Regions from separate parts of the Homo sapiens genome. Here region 2 is linked to region 1. Evidence: promoter capture Hi-C in human tissues and cell types (Jung and others, 2019). All regions are on one chromosome and are shown on one strand. The core of a region is centred on a gene start or on the middle of the fragment in contact, and the rest is flanking DNA. Distances in the headings are between cores, read along the strand shown. Region 1 holds the start of MAPKAPK2 (MAPK activated protein kinase 2). Region 2 overlaps YOD1 (YOD1 deubiquitinase).

What was found. The method cuts DNA at HindIII sites, captures the fragments that hold promoters and counts their contacts. A contact is called where the count stands out against the background at its distance.
Region 2: a contact is called between a fragment that was not itself captured here and the fragment with the promoter of MAPKAPK2 in region 1, in 1 of the 25 tissues and cell types used here (adrenal gland).

The regions. Positions count from the first base shown.
Region 1 is chr1:206,682,852-206,686,784 of GRCh38, forward strand. It overlaps MAPKAPK2 (MAPK activated protein kinase 2), which reads left to right and starts at 2,054. Exons shown (of 10, transcript NM_032960.4): 1 at 2,054-2,657. The coding sequence starts at 2,379. It overlaps LOC124904495 (a long non-coding RNA gene), which reads right to left and starts at 1,955. Exons shown (of 3, transcript XR_007066833.1): 1 at 890-1,955; 2 at 500-692; 3 at 1-259. It overlaps LOC124904496 (a long non-coding RNA gene), which reads left to right. Exons shown (of 3, transcript XR_007066834.1): 3 at 56-137. RefSeq lists silencers at 2,030-2,209, 2,670-2,719, 2,730-2,819, 3,230-3,319. The HindIII fragment of the contact is 19,561 bases long and covers 1-3,933 here.
Region 2 is chr1:207,043,384-207,046,885 of GRCh38, forward strand. It overlaps YOD1 (YOD1 deubiquitinase), which reads right to left. Exons shown (of 2, transcript NM_018566.4): 2 at 466-3,502. It also overlaps a transcript of PFKFB2 not described here. Among named protein-coding and RNA genes, the nearest start is that of YOD1, 6.1 kb to the right of the region's middle. The HindIII fragment of the contact is 4,320 bases long and covers 1-3,502 here.

The DNA.
Region 1 (3,933 bases), core at 804-3,303:
TATTCTCTCTCAGCCCCGAAAGTAGATTTTGTTGTTTTTTTCTTTTCTTTTTCAGATGCTGAGAGATGTTACATGTCTTGCTCAAGGTAACCCAGTTGGAGGACAGTCTTGGCTTCAGCTCATTTGTCTCTAGATCCTGTCATCTTACCACTGTGCCTTGCTGCCTCTGAAAAGGCAGAAGGAAGTTATTCTCTTTCTAGCTTTGTGGAGAAAAGCAGGTGATACCTCAACACCAAGCCATAGGGAGCTTCCAGTGACTCTGCAAAGAAAAAAAAGACCAACTCAGACTCCAGAGCAGCCCCACCAGAGCCTGAGCAGTTGGAGCCTTCCACCTTCCCACCCCTGCGTTCCTCTTGTCCTTGGGCATCTCCTGTGTGTGCTTCGGGGAGGTGATAGCAGTGCTATAGAAGTAGTGGAGTGAAGATGTTTTCCTATCCCCGTGGCCTTAGATAGTGTCTTTGTCTTTGAAGAGTCAGGGGCATCTGGGGAGCTGTCTAACCGTATCTATCCTGTAGACTCGGGAGGAAGCTGCTGGCTGCTGTAGACAGAAGAGAATCCCTGTGCTTCGGGCTCCTAGGAAGGTGTCTGCCATCCTCTCTGTGCCACTGTTATCTGTCTTCTTCCCCATCAGATAACACCATCCACCGCTGCAGGGCTGAGCACGGCACCTTGTACATGGAGCTAAGCAGATGCTGCTTGAGAAGAGCATATGTTTGTGTCGGGGGAAACATGTCTCTCCTTGGTCCACAGAGCCCTACCTGCCCCAGGAAAGGACAGTGTTGGGAGGGTAACTCCCACCCCTCACTCCTCCCCCTCATTCCTGCCTCCACAAGCATCTTCTGGGAAAGGTGAATGAGGGAAGAGACATTTGCACTTGTCCCTTACCTACCTAAGTTCTATCCCCAGTGGCCACTTCTGGGGGTGTTGTCTTCTCTCTGGAGTTTTGGGGGACCTATTAGGGGGCATGTGTGGCCATAGGTCAAGCCTCATTCTCTAACTGGCCTTACCAAGACTTAAGCTGAGGTTTTGTGTTCACCTGTCTGGGTTGCTTGCCATTTCTCAAATGTTCTGCCAGTCAGAGGTGGGAGGAGGTCGGCAGGAATGTACTTGGTCATCTCGAACCCCATCAGAATGTGTGTGGAGGCCTCCTGGCAGCTTCTATGCAGGGTCCAGCTAGATCCCTGGGCTTTTCCTGAGATACACGGGGCTAACCCACTTCTTACGGATTAATTTTTCCACATCGGAAATCAGAAGCCATTCCCCAGGGCCTCCCCTTCAGTTTCATTATCTCCTTTGACTCTGCCCACAACCTTTGAAAAGGTCTCGCTGTTCTTCCCACGGAGAGAGAGGTGCAAGGCTTGCTCAGCCTCACACAGCCAATCCGTGGCAAAGGATGGCGGGAATTCAGGTGGCCCCAATCTCAACCCATCCTCTTCCCACCCTGTATCCTTTTTAGTTTATTTACAGGAAAACATGTTCAAAGGTATAATTACTAAAGTGCTCCTGGTTACACAATAATACGTCTTTACTGAAAAACAATAAATTAATGAGAAAAGAGATGCAAAAAACCTCAGAGGAAAATGTTGAAGTTAGGGAAATATTTAATACGCCCGCCTTTGGCTCACACCTTTTCCTGGGATGAATGACCCCTGTGATTCCAGCTCCCCCCCACCCCCACGAGGTCTCATCTAGCTGGATACCTACAAGCCATCCCTGTCCTTGGAAATACACCCCTCTCCCAATTCGCTGCCGCTAAGAAGCCCAGACAATTGGAGAGGAGTGGATTTTCCATCTGAATTATGCAGCTCCTTTGACACGCCTCCCCTCTCCCTTTGCATAGCCTTGGTTAAGAACTAGCATTTCTTCGTCCCCTCTCCCTGTCCCCTCTCACTGTCCGCGAGGCAGCAGCCCCCAGCCTACTCCGCGATCCTCCCAGCTCCCGGCACCGCGCGTCCTCCCCTTTAAGGCCCGCCCCTCCCCCCACGCCACGCCTCCCCAGGCCCCGCCCCCCGCCCCTCCCCTTTAAGGACCGGCCCCGGACGCAGACGAGGCTGTGACGCGGCCGCCGGCCCGGGGCTGGGTACATTGTCGCGCGGCCGCTTCCCCCCGGCCGGGCCCCCGCCGCCCCGCGGTCCCCAGAGCGCCAGGCCCCCGGGGGGAGGGAGGGAGGGCGCCGGGCCGGTGGGAGCCAGCGGCGCGCGGTGGGACCCACGGAGCCCCGCGACCCGCCGAGCCTGGAGCCGGGCCGGGTCGGGGAAGCCGGCTCCAGCCCGGAGCGAACTTCGCAGCCCGTCGGGGGGCGGCGGGGAGGGGGCCCGGAGCCGGAGGAGGGGGCGGCCGCGGGCACCCCCGCCTGTGCCCCGGCGTCCCCGGGCACCATGCTGTCCAACTCCCAGGGCCAGAGCCCGCCGGTGCCGTTCCCCGCCCCGGCCCCGCCGCCGCAGCCCCCCACCCCTGCCCTGCCGCACCCCCCGGCGCAGCCGCCGCCGCCGCCCCCGCAGCAGTTCCCGCAGTTCCACGTCAAGTCCGGCCTGCAGATCAAGAAGAACGCCATCATCGATGACTACAAGGTCACCAGCCAGGTCCTGGGGCTGGGCATCAACGGCAAAGTTTTGCAGATCTTCAACAAGAGGACCCAGGAGAAATTCGCCCTCAAAGTAGGTCTGGGGCCCGGGGAGGGGAGGCGGGGCCGGTCCCGGGCCCTGGAGCTCCACGGCGTCGGGTGCCCGTCCCGGCCTGGGTCGCGGCGCGGGGCGGAGGGGTGGCCGCGGCGGGGCGGGGCGGGGCGGCCGGGCCGGCGGTGCCGAGTGCGGCGCGGGCGGCGGGTCCCAGCGCCCTCGCCTCCCTGACCGCTTCCGGCCGCTCCCGGGCGGGAGCCCTGGGACCCGCTCCTGGGGACTCAGGGGACCCTGCCATTTTGGGGTTTGAGCGGGATCCAGCCGAGTCAGAACGGTTGGCTTCGGGACTTCTGCTAATTTCACTCCATCTCAAGGAAGTGATTTTGGGGTTGGTGGTTCCCCGTCCTCTCCTCCCTCCTTTTTCTCTCTCTGCGGGCACAAAAGGCCCATTACTCATTGAGCCGGTTGGTCGGTTGGTTTGGAGAAGTCGGATCGCAGAGGTTTATTTAGCCTCGCTCCTTATTTGGGAGCCGGAATGTGTGATTTCACTTCCCCGAGCCTCGCGAGGGCAGCCGGGCCGCCTTGGGGCGCGCCGGGCAGGAGGTGTGCGGCGGGAGGGTCCTGGGTGTCCCCCGGCTGCGGGGGCGGGATTATTTGGATCCCGGAGCTGGCCCCCTCAGCTGGCCCCCTCCCACGCCCGCGCGGGGCGGCTCCGGGGAGAGGCCGGCGGTGTCCGCGGCCCGGCTGATCATTGTGAACAGAGTCTGTAACCCGCGGCCGGGCCCGTGCTGATTCCGCCTCCTAGAGAGGGCCACTTGCTGTCCTGGACTCGCGCCGTGATGGGCAGTCTGAGGAAACATTATCCTTGAGCCGGGGGAGCCCATCCCTTTTCTTTCTTTAAGGGGTGTGGTGGTGGGGAGAATAAGGATTCAAGTGAGAATATCGACTTCAGAAGTTAAACACAATGGACTGGGAGGTCTCATGAGATGGGTGGGTCCGCAGTGAAGTGTGAGCCGGTCTTGCAGGGTCACCAACAAGGTTTTCCTCTCACAGGGGTTTCAGGTCAAACCAATCTCTAAAGGTGACGCCTCAGGTCTGTTTCCCCTGGGGTGTCTCAATGATTGGAGGAGGAGAAAAATACTTCCTGTGTTATATTTTTCTCTTCCCCTTCAGCCCCCACAGCGAGCTGTATTTCAGTTGTCAAGTACAAAACTCAGAAATGTGGTATGGGTGGAACTATTGGAATATACGATCAGATGTTTTAAAAGAAACACCAGTACTTCGGGGTTGTACGGGGCAAGCATGTTCCATTTCT
Region 2 (3,502 bases), core at 808-3,307, 360 kb after region 1:
TAAATAGTTTAGTTTAGTTAGGGAACCTGAACTCTGGCCAATTGTAATAGCCACAGGGTTGCTTCAAATACATGTTTAAATGTTGACATTGCCAAAGATGAAATAAACCCTCCTATAGTGATGTTGCTGTTTTCAAACAGATCTAAGTTCACAAAGATTGCAGTCTATTAGAAAATAAATATTAAGCCTTTCCACACTGACAACTTGTCAGCAACAAATATTGAATTACAACTTGTAGGATTGGATTTAGAAAAAAATTTAGTCAATGAATGGGAATTTCAACCTTTCGTTAAGGAGAAATACCTTAGTTTCTCCTGTCTCATTCATTGAGTCCGCCTAAAGGGTGATATTTGGCAGATTTTGGTACCTTAGTTAAAGATTCGGTAAGCTTTTGATAATATGTATATTGAGTAAAATAGCCGTTCAGTGGCCATATCTGCCCTGATCCCAAAATATACTCAAACAACGTTTTCACTTCATTTATTCCTTTGAAACAAGTCACTTAATACAGCATTTAGATATTTAAAGTCATACACCTCATAAATAAAATCAATGCATCTTAATGACAATGGCAAAATCACATAAGAGTTGTAGAAAATGAAGTTAGACATCTTCCAGGTAGCAGCAGTGTATTACTTCAAAAAATGCTGGCAAATAGGCAAAACATTTTTAAAACAAGAAAACACTGTCCATCTGCATTAAGAAAAAATATTTTCTTATGCTGTTTTGCCCATCCCTACTTTTTCAAGTCATATTCTAAAGCTCTAATTTGACGGTCTTTACTTGTGGTTTTCTTTTTGCGTTAGGAACCTCTGTCTCTACTGCATTAATACAGAAACTATAGGAATATTGTTGTTCTCTAACCCTTTTCACAAACTATTCATATTCATTCTGTATTTAGGCTGAATTCAAATTTTTTTCAAGGAAAAATACTATTCTGCTAAGTACATATTTCCTGTAAACAGCTGGAGTCCTGAATGGCACCAATGTGACTGGAAAACTGACAAAAATTAGGTCCCCTGGTCCTTTAAGTAACTTACGGGCTAATTACATAGCCTATACCAGTTTATAAAGTAGACTCATGTAATCATATTAGAAATTCTGAGCCTAAGATGATCCTTTCTGTTTACCTACAACTTAATCAAATTATATCTTCACCATTCCTAAACTCCTATATGTTGGTTAGTACTTTTAAAAACATATGTATAAAAGGGCATCATGGCAAAATGCTTATAATTCATGGTTTCATACTTTAATGATAAGCTTTTTCACCTATGGCCATGCTACATTCTATGACAAGAAATGGGGAAGAAGGGTTGAGTTGACACAAAGGCATTGCTTTAAAAATGTTTGGAAAAGGGTAATTCATGACTAGGAATGCATCTATTTGACAATCTCTTCTTTATCAGTGGTACTTTGTCTTCTTGGCCCTTTTCTCCCTTCACTCTACCATGAGGGGGTTACCAACCTCCTTTAAATGTGTATGAATCAAGACCTAAATCAGCACCCTACAATTCAACATCAATAATAATTTTAAGTCAAACATTCAAAGCACTGTAAGCAAAATGCTAGATAATTTTGAGAAAAATAAACACTCTCCCACAACCAGGGACACTTAATATTCTTTTTATGTGGAATGAAATGTGCTGAAATACTGTAACATAAGAAAACAGCTTTAGTTTATAAACTAGCTTATTCAAATCAAGTGTTTCACTTTGGACTTAAAATGATGCCACTTGTATATGACACGTTTAAGGCCTCTGACTCAAAAATCAGCTTCCTTATAAGTCTGCTTGGAAACAAGTTTTAAGGATCGAATCTTTTAGAAATTATCAGTCATCTCTGCACTACAAGGACAAATTTGAATACTGCATTGTATAATAATACAAGATATTCACATAATAATAAGTAACATTTTTAATGCTAGGGCACAGACCATGCTCCTAATAGTTACTGAAATTGAGTTCTACTGTTATCAAAACACCAGAATGTTGTGCCAATAGATACACTCTACACTGATGGCAATCTTTGATTAAGAAGAGCTGATGGTTAGTAGCTCAAGAATTGTACTTTAATGTCCTTAATTAGATCCCTAGAGGGCCAACATGTAAACTTTTATTCCATATATATTTTTTAAAGTGCTGCAAACAAATGTGTCTCCACACATGAAAGAACATAATTCTTAGTATGTTTAGGAAGGCCACCTGATTTGTCAAAAAAAAAAAAAAATCACTCTTGCTTAATCTTGCATACTTCCCATTCCATTTTTTTTCCCAAAAAGATGTAAGAAAACTATGTTTAGCTTAGGGCAACTTGCAACACCCACGTTTTAATCCCTCCACAGAAGGAATAAACTAGAGAAGCAAGTTAGGCATGGGCATTTAGGGACACAGACAAATTAGATAGATAACATAATGTTAGTTAATTCCTCATTATTATTTTGCTGGGACTTCATGGAATAATCAAGCGGCATGACTACATTAGTTGTTAAAAACAGGGTCAAACTGACCAGCAGTCAAGCGTCAAGGGTACCACTTGACTATGCTAATTTCATGGGAAACAATGAAGAAATCAACCATGAACCATTAGCAAAAGATGGAACACACTAATGTCTTCACTTGGCTAACACATCACAAAATTTCCAGGTATGTTAAATTTTAGCTTCTGAAATCACTTTATTCAGGAGTGAATCTTCATAGTACTACACCTGACCTTTAATCCAAAGAAAAGTAAGAGAAAGGAAGAAGGGTGGGGTGGGAAAGTGAGGTCTTTATTCACTTTGCCACTAATATAAACTGTCATTTTAATTTTTAAAAAAATTCCTCTATGGCAGGCAAAAACTCAATGAATAGGAAAGATTTCATTCTGCTCTAGTACAAAACTTAAGACATTTAATCCTCCTGAAAGTTGTAAGTCCATAGATTTTCAAAATTCCCAAGATGAGAATTTACTCCCTTTAATAACTAATTCCAAGAGTTTAATAAGCACAGTAAAAAATGAAAAAACAAACAAACAAAAAGCAAACCCCTGTAAATTCTGTGAGGCTTAAAAGCTTGAGTTTAGAATGAGCAAAGGTTTAGGTTTTTAATCCTCAATAATTAAATCAGATGGTCCACAAATAAAGCTTCACCTTGAATTTTCCAGGATCAGAACACTAAAGTACTAGTGCTAAATTTCAGCAGACTAAAGAGTCATTTTTGAAAGGAATTTGACAGAGTATCAGTGTCCAACCGGTAAATGGACAACCTAGATAACAGATAAAATACAATGAAATAAGATCCCCTGAATAAATACTTGACACTTAATATGTAAACAAAGCCCTTACAATGAAGGGGTTTAATTCTGTAAAATATCAGTGTTCTATTCCTTTCCATTTGTTAAATTTACCCACTGTAGAAAATATATACTGAATATAAAGTGACAGAAACTTATGTTGGAACATATCAAAACATATGACAGAAACATATCAAAACATGCCTGGCACAGTATAAATTACTCAATA